Regions from separate parts of the Homo sapiens genome. Here regions 1, 2, 4 and 5 are each linked to region 3. The links are contacts of gene promoters, found by promoter capture Hi-C in human tissues and cell types (Jung and others, 2019). All regions are on one chromosome and are shown on one strand. Each heading gives the region's core, a stretch centred on a gene start or on the middle of the fragment in contact. The rest is flanking DNA. Distances are from core to core; before and after follow the strand shown.

Region 1 (2,700 bases), core at 195-2,694, 390 kb after region 3:
TTATAATTCTATTTTGGTCTTTGTTTGTTAGTATTGGTTGCCTGGATATGTTAATGGCCACAAAGAGAATTGCCAAAGTTTTGGGGGTGTTAATAAAACAAAAATTAGTTTTGTATTCATGTCACAACCTGATGCAGGTTAGGTGGCTCTGTTTGGTAATTTTCCCCTCCTGGTATTTTAGGGATCTGGGCAACTCCCATTTCTGAACTGTTTCTGAATTTATTTTCAACCACATAGAAAAGAGAGAGAAAATGTGGAGAACTCCTATTCTGCCTTCAGCAACCTTGGACCGGAAGAGAAACATCACTTCTCTCCACATTTCCATTGGTGAGAACTCAGTCACATGCTCCCAATGGACTTACTAGCTCTATCTCAGGTTACAGTAAGAGTCCACTGGGACTTACTAGCGCTCTCTGTGTAGTCTGACTGTGTGCCAGAAAGAAGAAGTATAGCACTGTTTGGTTCAGAGACCCGTAATTCCAGCTACTTGAGAGGCTGCGGCAGGAGAATCGCTTAAACCCAGGAGGCAGAGGTTGCAGTGGGTCAAGATCACACCTTGAACTCCAGCCTGGGCGACAGAGTGAGAGTCTGTCTCAAAAAAAGTGTTTTATTCCTAAAAACTATTGACAGAATAGTCATTAAATTATTTGATTGTTAACTCTGTACTCCAGACATGACATATCATTGGTAATGATCTGTATTGTTCATAAAATTTTTTCTAGTGGAAATATAATGTGAGCCACATATTTAACTTAAAATATTCAAGTAGCAATATTTTTTAAAAGAAAAAGAAACAACTGAAATCAATTTAATGTTTTATTTAATTTGATATATTTCAAATATCATTGAAACATGTAATCAATATAAAATATTAATGACATTTTTAATAATCTTTTGTTGTACTAAGTCTGAAATTTAGTGTGTGTGATGGTTAATATTGAATGTCAACTTGAATGGATTGAAGAAAGCAAAGTGTTGATCCTAGCTGTGTCTATGAGGGTGTTGCCAAAGGAGATTAACATTTGAGTCAGTGGACTGCTAGAGGCAGACTCACCCTCAATCTGGCTGGGCACCACCTAATCAGCTGCCAGCGTGGCTAAAATAAAGCAGGTAGGAGAAGGTGGAAGAGCAGACTTGCTGAGTCTCGGCCTTCATCTTTGTCCTGTGCTGGATGCTTCTTGCCCTCAAACATCTGACTCCAAATTCTTCAGCTTTTTGACTCTTGGACTTACACCAGTGGTTTGCCACAGACTAAAGGCTGCACTGTTGGCTTCCTTATTTTTGAAGTTTTGGGACTTGGACTGAGATACTACTGGCTTCCTTGCTCCTCAGCTTGCTGACAGCCTATCGTGGAACTTCACCTTGTGATCATGTGAGTCAATTCTCCTTAATAAACGCCCTTTGATATGTACATCTATCCTATTAGTTCTGCCCCTCTAGAGGCCCCTGACCAATACAGTGTGTATTTTACACTTAGAGCACATCACAATTCATACTAGCTGCATTTTGAGTATTCAGTAGCCAGATGTAGCTAGTGGCTAGCATATTAGACAGCTCAGGTTTAAAACATGGATGAGTTGGTAAAATTTATATTGTTTATAACACAGATAGGAAGGAAGAAAATATGGTGTTCAGAACAACAGTTTATGAGAGCCAGGAAGGTTTATGCAGTAACTGTCTAAAGAAACCTGAAAACAACAACAAAAAAAAGTAAAGGCTGTGTATAAATATCAAGTTCAGCTTCACAAATAAACATAGATCCCTTTAAGACACTGTCTGAAACATTTATACAGGATTACTTTTGTTTATAATTTGCGTCAATATATTTTAGATTGCCTTGTTTACAGGGTGGAGAGTTCTTAATATAATAAGCCATCACAATAGCAAATGCAGTGACTTTTTGGCCTTGCAGAGAGGAAATCCTATACTATAAGGGGCTGCAGGACCTCAGGGTGTGGCCCTGTTATTCTGCAGAACATGCCAGTTAAAGTAGTCAAGGCTTAATTCAGAGCCAAAATAAAAACAGTGACTGCCTAGGTTGAACTTTGTGTGTTTAGAGGAGGAAGTCTGAGAATAGAGAATATATTTCATCAAATCACAAACTACATTCTTAAAATTTTATTTCATTTAAGATTCAGGGGGTACATATGAATGTTTGTTACATGATATTGCATACTGGTAGGGATTAGAATTCTAGTGTACCCATTACCCAAATATTGAACATGGTAACCAATAGGTAATTTTGCAATCCTCACCCTCTTCCCACTGACCCCCTTTTGGAGTCCTCAGTCTATTATTTCCATCTTTATGTCCGGATGTTCCCATTGACAAACCACGTCTATTAAGCACCTAACATATTCAGCTCACTTTTTTTTTCCCTCTAGGATTTATAGTTTCATAAACAAGTTACACAAACCAGTATCTAATCCACAACTAATCAAAGTATTTCAGAATGCTGTTCATTATTCTTTTTTTCCTTAGGGAGAGTTCAAGGCTCAGAATAAATCAAGTCCCTTTGTGTTAAGAAGCACATCAGCCTTTAACAAATGCAGAATTACTGGGAAAGGAGTAGTATACATAGGTAAGAGAAATGTAACCCTCTGATCTCTGTGCTGTGAATTTTTAAGCAAAGTCAGATAAATAGCTAAAGATATCAGAAAGTACTGGAATGTAAGACAGAGTGTTAGGACCCAGGGACAT
Region 2 (2,801 bases), core at 57-2,556, 350 kb after region 3:
ACGGGCCTGGGAGAAAAAGCTGACACAAATATATCACACATTTTGAAAGTTGCCAGGTACCTTTGCTTCTCGTGGGTCAATACTTTTAAAACAACATCCTTCTCTAGAGAATCTTAACATTAAAGGAGTTCCCACTCTGTTATTAGAGCAAAATAATGGTATAAAACAGTCTCTTTCTTGAATTTAGTAGGGTGCTTGACCTGTCAGGCTGCAAAGAGAGAAGCTTGGTTACTGCCATTTTGTGATGGTCAGCCAAATGGTTTTACAAAGAAGAGGAAACTGTGGGTAGATGAAAGTTCTGCCTATAAAGTAGGTGTTACTACAGTGCATTGTGGTTATATTAAGTATGCCCAAAGGATAAGGAATTCAGGTGTGAAGTTGTGTGGCAGAAGTTGAAAATTAATTAAGCTCTGTGTTTAGGGTTTTTTTCCTTTAGTGTGCCGTAGTAACATGCCCTTGGCTCCAGGGAACTTTATGACTAAGTTGGAACAAAGCACTCATGACTCATGTTAAATGTAGCAGAGGAGAGATCATTAAATGTTTCTTGGCAATTAATTACCTGGGATATGCCTCTTTTTTCATAGCTTTGGTTTCAGGTGTGTGAGAGAGTTGAAAACGTTTAATTGCACCTAATTTGTTGCTGTAGTTTTATCATATGCCTAAGCATTGTGATAATGCCTGTAACCCGTGTGAAGAATTCGTAAGGGGCTTCATTTGTGACACCCCCAGAGGAGGGAATTTTTTTTTATGTTTGTGCAATAATCATACCTGACCTTTGATCCACTTTCTAATATAAAGAAAATTATGAAAACCTGCCAAATATGTACTAGATCCAGAACATCCTGGAAAGAAAATCCTTCCTACTTCTCCGGCAGTCTTTCCTTAATTAGATGTAGCCATTTTCCTCACTCCTACCCACCTATTGGTCCAGAACCTGAAAGAAATTTCTTCCCAGCTAGAAGCTGAAAGACAGATTGAGGGTAATCATTCCTTTGCATCTGGCCGATTTCAGTGTATTCTGCTGGTCACTATGTTATTTTCAATCACCTGAGATCTGATTACTTCTCCCCATCTTGCTAGCTTCCTGTTTTCTAGAACTCTAGTTTGATCACTAAATCTAAGCATTTTTACTTTCTGGCTTGAAGATAGTCTTCTTGTTTTCATGTGCTCTCTATTTTTTTCCATAGCACTTAGAACTAAAATCACATTATTTACTTGTTTAGTGTCAATTATTTTTTGCCTGTTTTCTCTCACTAGAGACTCCACAAGAGAAGGAAGGGAATTTGTCAGTCTTATTGACTGTTAAATCTCCAACATCTATTTCTGGGTCTACCACTGAGTATTTATGCACTCAGTTGGAAAGGGGTGGATGAATGAATGGATAGATGGATAGATGAGAACCTGACATCTTCTAATCTTCTAGGCGCTATTCTGGATTTGTTCATTTGCCTCCATTGGAGTTCATATCAACTCCAGTAGAGTATTTCTTATGTAACCCAAAATACATATTTTAGGCACTTGCCAAAGGCTTTCAGTACATAGTGGAGGCAAAAAGAAGTTAAAATAATTTAGAATCTGCTAAGAAAGCTCAAGGTGAATGTAACATGAGAATGAAGTCTGAGTGGTATTTAACCAGATGGGTGATTGTCAATGAAACATTGCCAACAGATAAGCAGGATTGAGGATCATAAATTTTGGCAGAGCTGTTCCTGGTGACATTGCCCAAGAGACAATGGGTATAATGGATAGAAAATGAGAATCATTGTTTTCCAGATCAAACGGAATCGATGTCTTCCACTCAGCCATACATCCAAATGCATGAATGAAGGACCAAGCATAAATAAGAGCAAAGTAGCTCTTTAAGCTACTTTGAGCTACTTTAAGCTACTTTAATCTACTTTAAGCTCTTTAAGCTACTTTCATAGTAAGCACTTTAAGCCAAAGCCTTAACTGGATATAAGCAAATATAGAGAGATGACAAAGGGGCCTTGCAGTTAGAATAAGATTTCACTTACTCTTCATAAGAAAATTTTCAAGGAGATAATGTCCAAATTTATAGGAAACTAAAGTTCTGACAGGCTTACTAACGTACTCCAGGTCACACAAGGATAAATGTGTGATTCATACCCCAATACATGCTGTTTTTACTCGCCCAGGAAGAGTAAATGGTGTCGTTTCCCCTTCAATTCTGGTTGGTTCATAGAAAAAAGCCTCAAGACCACTGTTGAATCTCACTCTGACTACAGCAGGATCCATGGGAATGGGTGGAGGGCAGGGTGTGTCTGCTAGGAGATGGCAACAAGGAGTGGCAGTACCCACTCCATTTACCATCTCTGAACACGTTATCTCATTGAAAGAGCTCCCAGACAATGTTTCTAAGGTGTTTGGGAATTTGGGGACGAAAGAAGCTATATGAAGAATTACTAATAAGTTTAGTATAGATAGTAAATCTGATGAGGTATTTCTATCTAAATAGACAAGTTTACGTTTTACGAGACTTTATGAGGAAACGCTGTGTGGGAAATAAAATGAAGTATTTTGCCAAATTTTCTTAATTTTTGTTAATTGTAAAGGAGAATGTACTCAGAACAAGTAAGAAAGCACAAATATTTTTAAATCGTTTAAATAATCTCCTTCTCCACCTTCTTCACCATTTTCACTTAAATAAAATGGTGCATTTGATTCCATATCTTTCTCTATATTCTTCCATGTGTTCTATGTTCCCTATGGGATCCATTATGTTCTATGTTCCATATGGAATCCAATTCCATATGGAATCACATGCATACATATATATATAT
Region 3 (2,819 bases), core at 51-2,550:
AAAGCATTTTGAGCACATTGATGCCTTCATTCTACACCAACGATGTGTACAAACACCCCGGTTTCCTTTTTCCCCACCACTTCCACCCCTTCCACACATTTCAGGAACTGCAATCTCCAACAGAACCTCTGGGGGGTGAAAGGGCAACCCTTAGCCAACCGCGGCAGATAACACATAACAATTTCTAAGGGGGAAAGTGAGAGGAGGTAACAATCAACAATGGTGAAGAGAACTGTGGATAGGGGCACCGTGGCGGCCCTTTCTAAACGAAGAACCAGGTATTTTCTTCAAGGGAAAAAAAAATCTAATTGTCCCCCCAGGCAGCGCTTTACCCACAGTGCTTTATGTATAATGCAGAATTTAGCAGCACTGGGAATTATCTCAATCACTATCATTCAGAGGTGCCTATTTTATAAAAAGCCTTTATCCCTTTTGAAATGGAAAAAGGTGCGTGCATTGTGGAGGTACTAGAGCTCTTTAGAGCCCACACAGAGCTGCAAACTAGGCAGACACCGCCGAGAGCCAAGTTTCCCGGGCAGGCGGGCAGGTTCCCGCCCCGCCGAGAGCTGCCGCTTAGGAGTTCCGCGTTGGCTTCGCTCCCGCGGCTGCACCCGCGTTCGCGCCGCTCCTGGTGCCCGGCGCCCACCTCGGGGCTACACAAATAAATCTGAGTGAGAGAGCTAGTGAGGGTGGCGCGTGGGGTGCTGTTTCATAATCTCCTGGAATCCACGGGAAAACCGTCTCCTATGCAAAGACATGCCTTCCCGTGATAACTTAACATTCCATGGCCCAAAAGCCAATCTTTCCACCAGACGGGAATTACGGTTTCCGACTGACAGCTCAAAACTTAACTGCTGAGGCTCCAAACTTGACACTGGCTCCCTCTCAGCACTCCCACTCCTTTTCTCCCTGGCTCACCCGGCTCGGCTCGGGATCACACACCACGCCGGCCTCCCCCGCATCCTCTTGTCTCACCCGGCAGGCACAGCCCTGCACGCCCCAGCTGCAAGTCCCAGGGAGCGCCGGCTTCCCCGGGGCACCGGGCGCGATTTTTCCTGGAGAGCCTGGGAGCTCCCGGGCGCGCCCTACTCACTTGTGTCTTCTTCATAAGGAAAGGCAGCGCTGCGATCCAGCACAAACAGTGGTGTGGCGACTCCGTTTAGCTGTTCTGGAGCTCCAGCATATTGCACGAACAGCGGCGGCAGATAGTCCACGCATTGGGTAGCCCGAGCGCAGCGCCCTCTCCACTGTCCCTGCTTCCCGCAGCGCTTCTAGTCTCGGCGCGAGGCGGCGAGCGAAGCCCGGCTGCTGAGCCGCCGGCGCTTTTATACAGTTCCCGCCCGCCTGCTCCGGACACGCCTCCTTCCCTTCCGGAGCCCGGGGTAGGCGAGAAGCAGGCAAGGGCGCGGAGGGAAGAATCGGGAGGGCGGCCAGAGCACGGTAAATGCCCCAGAAGTTTGGCAGATTAGGCCAACCTTGTCCGCTCGCCTGGGGGCCCCGGACCTGCACTGGCGGGAGACCGCGAAGGCGCGGGGACGCAGAGGGCGAAGCTTGGTACCCTGCAGCTACTGCTCGCGAGGAGTCCCAGCTTACCCTCCCGGATCCGCTGGGGCTCACCTGGCACCCCCGGGGACAGACGAAATACCTCGCGCGCCAGAGAGGGCTCGGAGCTCCCTCTGTTATACAAAGTCGGAGAGGGAGAGGAGTCCGGGAGGTTCGGAGCAAAGAATTCACCCTGCCTGCCTTAGAGAAATAAAGTTTAATTGCGATCTGTAGTTAGGCCATTGTCCTATCACCTCTATTTTTTAAAAAAAACAATTACTTTAGTGAATGAATATTTAATAATTACAAGAATTGTTGACTCAAGGTTAAGTATTGCAAGGGGAGACGCTTCATTTGGAATGGTTTGTTACTGTGTCTTTAGAAATTAAGATTGAAAGAGAAGCGATAGATTATTAAACTACAGGTCGCCAACACAGCAAGGCTTTGAAAGTTGTACTTTTTTGAACGGAAAGATAATGCAACCACAATAATAATAGCTAACATCATTATGTGATGCACTTATTCATGTGCCAGGTGCCAGACTAAGAACTTCGCATAGATTATCTCATTAAATTCTTTCATCAAATCTATTAGTGTAGATCTTATTATTTTATTCCCATTTTATGGACGATGAAATACAAGGTTAATTTTCTTGACCAACCATATCTAGTAAATGGCAGAGCTCTAATTTAAACCTGGAGCTCCAGCTGTACAGTCTTAAAAAATACTTCAAATATTTTATTGATTCTCCAGAATGTGTCTGTTTTTGTTTGTATAACTGGAGAACATTCCAAAGCATTTCATTAATTTTTTAAAAGAAAATATTAGCTGAACATTAACATCAGTGATCTTTAAAAGAAAGAATAATGTATGAGTTTAGGAATTAGTTATTTTAATAATAGAGTAGGAGTCCAAATTTGCTTTAATTAGTTCCGGTGCGTTTGTTAAACATGAATATGCCAAACCTGTAATCAGGGCGAAGCTTGTTTATTTCACTCCAGATGTGCTGACTTCTGTGATTTCCCCAAATGTGGGAAACTCGACTGCATAATTTAGTGGGGGACTGCGTTCTCACTTTCTCATGTTAGAAAAAATATGTATAGACAGCACATCAATCATGATTCCAAGTTGATAGTTGCTTAGAAAGATTTTTATACATTAGGTACTCTTAGTACAAATATATCGAACATCAAATATCAAAATGAGCTTAATTTGGATACTGGAGGCATAGCAAATGATTGTTTTTTTTTTCTTCAAGATTTATTTTTATTTTTTAT
Region 4 (2,700 bases), core at 21-2,520, 470 kb before region 3:
TAATATAACTAGAAAATTATGATGTTTGCAACTTTTAATAATTGGGTTAGGCAACAATCATCAGCAGATGCTAAAATCATTAGGACTGACAAATAATTTGTTATTTGTATGGTACCAAAATATCACCAGTTAGCTAAATTGCTTAATAATGGAGGTATATGGTTATCTTTTCTTCTTCTTCTTCTTCTTTTTTTCTTTTAAGAGAGAGACTCGCTCTGTTATACAGGCACATAGGCTGGAGATCAGTGGCACATGATCACAGCTCACTGCAGCCCCCAACTTCCTGGGCTCAAGCGATCCTCCCACCTCAATGTCCCAGGTAGCTGGGATTACAAGCATGTGCCACTACACCAAGCTAATTAAAAACAAACAAACAAAAAAAAAAACATTTTTTGTAGAGACGGAGTCTCACTATATTGCCTAGGCTGGTCTGGGCTCAGGAAATTTTCCTGCCTGGGCCTTCCAAAATGTTGGAATTATAGGCATGAGCCACCATACTTGGTCTGCTTGTCTTTTCCTTAACAGAGTAATCAATTACAAAACATGGAACAACCAGATACTCTTGAAGTGATGCAATATAAAGTATAGAACACTACTTATGAAGTATTCTTGCCAAAAATGTTTAAACCTGAATGTAACTTAGGGTTCTGACCTAACTTTTAGTAATACAAGGGACACAGGAACAAGTAAAATGACACACACACAAAAGTTAGATACATCTTCAAACATTTTTTGGAGAAAAAGAAAACCAAGGGGATTCTATATTAAAAAGATTTATGAGATGTAACATCCAAATGCTTATTCTTTGATCAAAAAATGTAAAAAATGTGACTATAATCAGGGTATTAGGCGATATTAGAAAATTACTGTCATTTTGTTAGGTATAATAAAGTTACTATGGTTAGTTAAAGAAAAAAGCCTTTTTCAAAAGGGTACATTAAATATTTAGGGGAGGAATGTCTGCAATTCAAACATCCCACAAAAATCAGAAGAAGCAATTATGACAAAATGTTAATAAATGTTAACTATTAATTCAGGTGATGAGCATTATTGATACCATCCTATCTTCTGCATATTTGAAATTTTTCATAGTCAGAAAAAGCAAAATAAGAATCAGATGTACCTTAAATCTTTGCAAACACCCAATTTTTTCACAAACTTCAGCCTCCATTGACAACAATTCATTCTTTTGCTTCTCATTTTCTTTTCTAAGTTGTCGCTCCAATTCTACTAAGGTTGTATATTGCCTTATAAGTGATTTTTCATTCACTTGCAAAACAGTAATTTTCCTACTATTTTCTGCAAGTATTTTTTTCATTTCATCCGAATCCATCTGAAGAGCATTGAGCAAATTCTGCACAAAGACACATCCATATTACTTGTTGAATCTAGCTATCCTACTTTGTACAATATTGCATACTAATGTTAAAAATGTTTTACTTACATTATATTCTTTTACTTTTATAGCATCTTGTTGGACTTGATCCTCAAGTTTTCTCTTTTCCTCTTTTATTGTTTTAGATTCTGTTTTCCAGGTCTCCTTTTCACTAAAAACAAAACAAAACAAAAAGACAATACTGTAAACCTAATAAAATGTTTATAAGAAAAGATAACTTCAGATTATGCAAATTTAAAGTTTTCTCAACACAAGAGGTATCATAGCTATTCAGTATCTGAAAACACAAGAAGTTAAACTTTCATTTAAAAAGGGTTTAGCCTAGAATTAAAAATTTTTTAAATAAATGCAAGGCAACAAAGTTATCAAATTATTTTCATTCTTCCCTGATTCACCACTAAATGGGTTATAATATAATTGAAGCTGAATCTTATAAACATTTTATTGAACACAGAAAAAAAGTAGGAAAATAATACCCTATACTAATTCTAGAAATCAAATTCCAACATTCTGACCCCACTCTCAAATTTGGGTGTTAAATGCTTACAAAATAATTTGAATACAAACACATCTTAAGTCTAATTAAAATAGTGACCAAAGTTAATAACAGTATATTATATACTTTAAAATTGCTAAGAGAGTAAATTTTAAGTGTTCTTAGTGCAAAAAAAAAAAAAAATAAGAAGAAGTATGCTGTAATCCCAGCACTTTGGGAGGCCAAGGTGGGCAGATTGCTTGAGGCTAGGAATTTTGAGACTAGCGTGGACAATATGGCAAAACTCCGTCTTTACCAAAAATACAAAAATTAGCCAGGCGTGGTGGCACATGCCTGTAATCTCAGCTACTTGGGAGGCTGAGGCAAGAAAATAACTTGGACCCAGGAGGCAGAGGTTGCAGTGAGCCAAGATAGCGCCACTGCACTCCAGCCTGGGTGACAGAGCAAGACTCTGTCTCAAGGAAAAAAAAAAAAAAGTATGCGAGGTAATACATATGTTAAGTAGCTTGATTTAGCCATTCCACAGTATATACATATATAGAACACCATGTTGTATAGCATAGTATATACATATATAGAACACCATGTTGTATAGCATAGTATATACATATATAGAACACCATGTTGTATACCATAAATTCTTGTGAATTTAAAAAGTAATTTAAAACATATTTATATATAAATTATTTTTTTGAAGTTGTGTAAGACACTGTTGTCTACACATGAGCATTCCACAAACATGTGTAATGTTCTTGGCATAAACCCAGTATAGCGGTATCATTCTCTTTGCAACTGAATGGTTCAGACT
Region 5 (2,700 bases), core at 38-2,537, 380 kb before region 3:
ACAGACTGAGTAATTTATTTTAAAAGAGAGGTTTAATTGGCTCACAATGTATAAGCATGGTGCTGGCATCTGCTTGGCTTCTATGGAGGGCTCAGGGAGCTTTTACTTATGGTAGAAGGTGAAGCAGGAGCAGGCACACCATATGGCAAGAGCAGGAGCAATAGGAGTGGGGGAAGCACCACACACTTTTTAAACAACTAAATCTCATGATAACTCACTCACTAGTGAGGAGATCACCAAGTGGATGGTGCTAAACCATTAATAAGAAATTCACCTTTATGGTCCAGTCACCTCCCACATTAGAGATTACAGTTGAACATGAGATTTGGGGGGACAAATATCAAAATTATGTCAATCCATCCCTGGCCCCCCAAATTTCATGTTCTTCTCACATTGCTAAATATAATCATGCCTCCCCAATAGTCCGCAAAAGTCTTAACTCATTCCAGCATTAACTCAAAATTTCCAGGTCAAGTCCCTTCTACCTATGAGCCTGTAAAATCAAAACAAATTATTTACTTCCAAGATACAATGGAGATACAGACATTGGGTAAACATTCCCATTCCAAAAGGGAGAAAATGCCCAAAAGAAAGGAGCTACAGGCCCCTCACAACTGCGAAATCCAGCAGGCCCATCATTAAATCATAAAACTCCAACATAATCTCCTTTGACTCCATGTCCCATATCCAGGGCACACTGATATGAGGGGTGGGCTCCCAAGACCTTGGGCACCTCTACCCAATGGAGCTTTGCAGGATTTAGCCCCTGAGGCTGCTCTCATGGGTTGGAGTCAAGTGTCTGTGGCTTTCCAAATGAAGGGTGAAAGTCTCCAGTGGATCAACCATGTTCAGGCCTGGAAGATACTGGTCTTCTTCCCTTCCCACAGTTTCACTAAGCAGTGTCCCAAGTGAAAATTCTGGGTGGGGCCTCCAACCCCACATTTCCCCTCTGCACTACCTTAGTAGAAGTTCTCTGTGAGGGCTCCACCCATGCAGCAGGCATCTGCCAGGACCCCATGGTTTTCCATACTGATATGGTTTGTCTGGGAGGTAATTGAATCATGGGGGCAGGTCTGTCCTGTGCTGTTCTCATCACAGTGAATACATTTCATGAGACCTAATGATTATATAAGGAGAAGTTTCCCTAAACAAGCTCTCTTCTCTTGTCTGCCACCATGTGAGATGTGCCTTTCATCTCCCGCCATGATTGTGAGGCCTCCCCAGCCACGTGGAACTAAGTCCATTAAACCTCTTTCTTTTGTAAATTGCCCAGTCTCGAGTATGTCTTTATCAGCAGTGTGAAAACAGACTAATACAGTAAATTGGTACCAGTAGAGTGGGGTGCTGCTAAAAAGATACCCAAAGATGTGGAAACAACTTTGGAACTGAGTAACAGGCAGAGGTTGGAACAGTTTGGAGGGCTCAGAAGACAGGAAAATGTGGGAAAGTTTGGAACTCCCTAGAGATTTGTTGAATGGCTTTGACCAAAATGCTGATAATGATATGAGCAATGAAATCCAGGCTGAAGTGGTCTCAGATGGAGATGAGGAACTTGTTGGGAACTGGAGCAAAGGTGACTCTTGTTATGTTTTAGCAAAGAGACTGGAGGCATTTTTCCCCTGTCCTAGAGATCTGTGGAACTTTGACGTTGAGAAAGATGATTTGGGGTATGTGGCAGAAGAAATTTCTAAGCAGCAAAGCATTCAAGAGGTGATTTGTGTGCTGTTAAAGGAATTTAGTTTTTAAAGTGAAAAAGAGCATACATGTTTGCAGAATTTGCAGCCTGACAGTGTAGTAGAAAAGAAAATCCCATTTTCTAAGGAGAAATTCAACCCAGCTGCAGAAATTTACATAAGTAACTAGAAGCCAAATTAATCCCCAAGACAATGTGGGAAATGTCTCCAGGGCATGTCAGAGGTCTTCATGGCAGCCCTTCCCATCATGGACCTGAAGGTCTAGGGAAAAAAAAAATGGTTTAGTGGGCCAAGCCCAGAGTGTCTGTGCTGTGTGTAGCCTAGGGACTTGGTGTCCTGTGTTCCAGCCACTCCAGCCATGACTAAAAGGGACCAAGGTACAGCTCGGGCCATGGCTTCAGAGGCTACAAGCCCCAAGCCTTTGCAACTTTCACATGTTGTTCAGTCTGCAGGTACACAGAAGTCAAGAATTGAGGTTTGGGAACCTCCGAGTAGATTTCAGAAGACGTATGGAAACGCCTGGATGCCCAGGCAGGTTTGCTGCTGGGGCAGGGCCCTCATGGAGAACCTCTGCTAGGGCAGGACAGAAGGGAAATGTGGGGTTGGAGCCTCCACACAGAGTCCCTACTGGGGCACTGCCTAGTGGAGCTGTGAGAAGAGGGCCACCATCCTCCAGAACCCAGAATGGTAGATCTACCAACAGCTTGCATTGTGCACCTGAAAAAGCTGTGGACACTCAACACCAGCCCATGAAAGCAGCCAGGAAGGAGGCTGTACCCCAAAAAGCCACAGAGGCAGAGCTGCCCAGGACCATGAGAACCCATCTCCTGAATCAGTGTGACCTGCATGTGAGACATGGAGTCAAAGGATATCATTTTGGAGCTTTAAGATTTGACTGCCCTGCTGGATTTTGGACTTGCATGGGGCCTTTAGCCCCTTTGTTTTGGCCAATTTCTCCCATTTGGAATGGCTGTATTTACCCAATGCCTGCAGCCCCATTGTATCT

Evidence for each region. Contacts are between HindIII fragments. The study calls those that stand out against the background at their distance.
Region 1: a fragment that was not itself captured here is called in contact with the fragment with the promoter of KITLG in region 3 in 1 of the 25 tissues and cell types used here (IMR-90 fibroblasts).
Region 2: a fragment that was not itself captured here is called in contact with the fragment with the promoter of KITLG in region 3 in 1 of the 25 tissues and cell types used here (H1 embryonic stem cells).
Region 4: a fragment that was not itself captured here is called in contact with the fragment with the promoter of KITLG in region 3 in 1 of the 25 tissues and cell types used here (mesendoderm cells).
Region 5: a contact is called between a fragment that was not itself captured here and the fragment with the promoter of KITLG in region 3, in 2 of the 25 tissues and cell types used here (H1 embryonic stem cells and IMR-90 fibroblasts).

The regions. Positions count from the first base shown.
Region 1 is chr12:88,968,994-88,971,693 of GRCh38, forward strand. No RefSeq gene overlaps it. Among named protein-coding and RNA genes, the nearest start is that of LINC02458, 49 kb to the right of the region's middle. The HindIII fragment of the contact is 5,537 bases long and covers 1-2,700 here.
Region 2 is chr12:88,934,122-88,936,922 of GRCh38, forward strand. No RefSeq gene overlaps it. Among named protein-coding and RNA genes, the nearest start is that of LINC02458, 84 kb to the right of the region's middle. The HindIII fragment of the contact is 3,251 bases long and covers 1-2,801 here.
Region 3 is chr12:88,579,171-88,581,989 of GRCh38, forward strand. It overlaps KITLG (KIT ligand), which reads right to left and starts at 1,301. Exons shown (of 10, transcript NM_000899.5): 1 at 1,094-1,301. The coding sequence starts at 1,108. LOC105369885 (a long non-coding RNA gene) reads left to right here and starts at 1,366. Exons shown (of 4, transcript NR_188177.1): 1 at 1,366-1,440. It also overlaps the pseudogene RNU1-117P. The HindIII fragment of the contact is 2,929 bases long and covers 615-2,819 here.
Region 4 is chr12:88,105,552-88,108,251 of GRCh38, forward strand. CEP290 (centrosomal protein 290) reads right to left here. Exons shown (of 54, transcript NM_025114.4): 24 at 1,445-1,547; 25 at 1,124-1,354. Among named protein-coding and RNA genes, the nearest start is that of CEP290, 35 kb to the right of the region's middle. The HindIII fragment of the contact is 7,433 bases long and covers 1-2,700 here.
Region 5 is chr12:88,202,904-88,205,603 of GRCh38, forward strand. No RefSeq gene overlaps it. Among named protein-coding and RNA genes, the nearest start is that of TMTC3, 62 kb to the left of the region's middle. The HindIII fragment of the contact is 6,396 bases long and covers 1-2,700 here.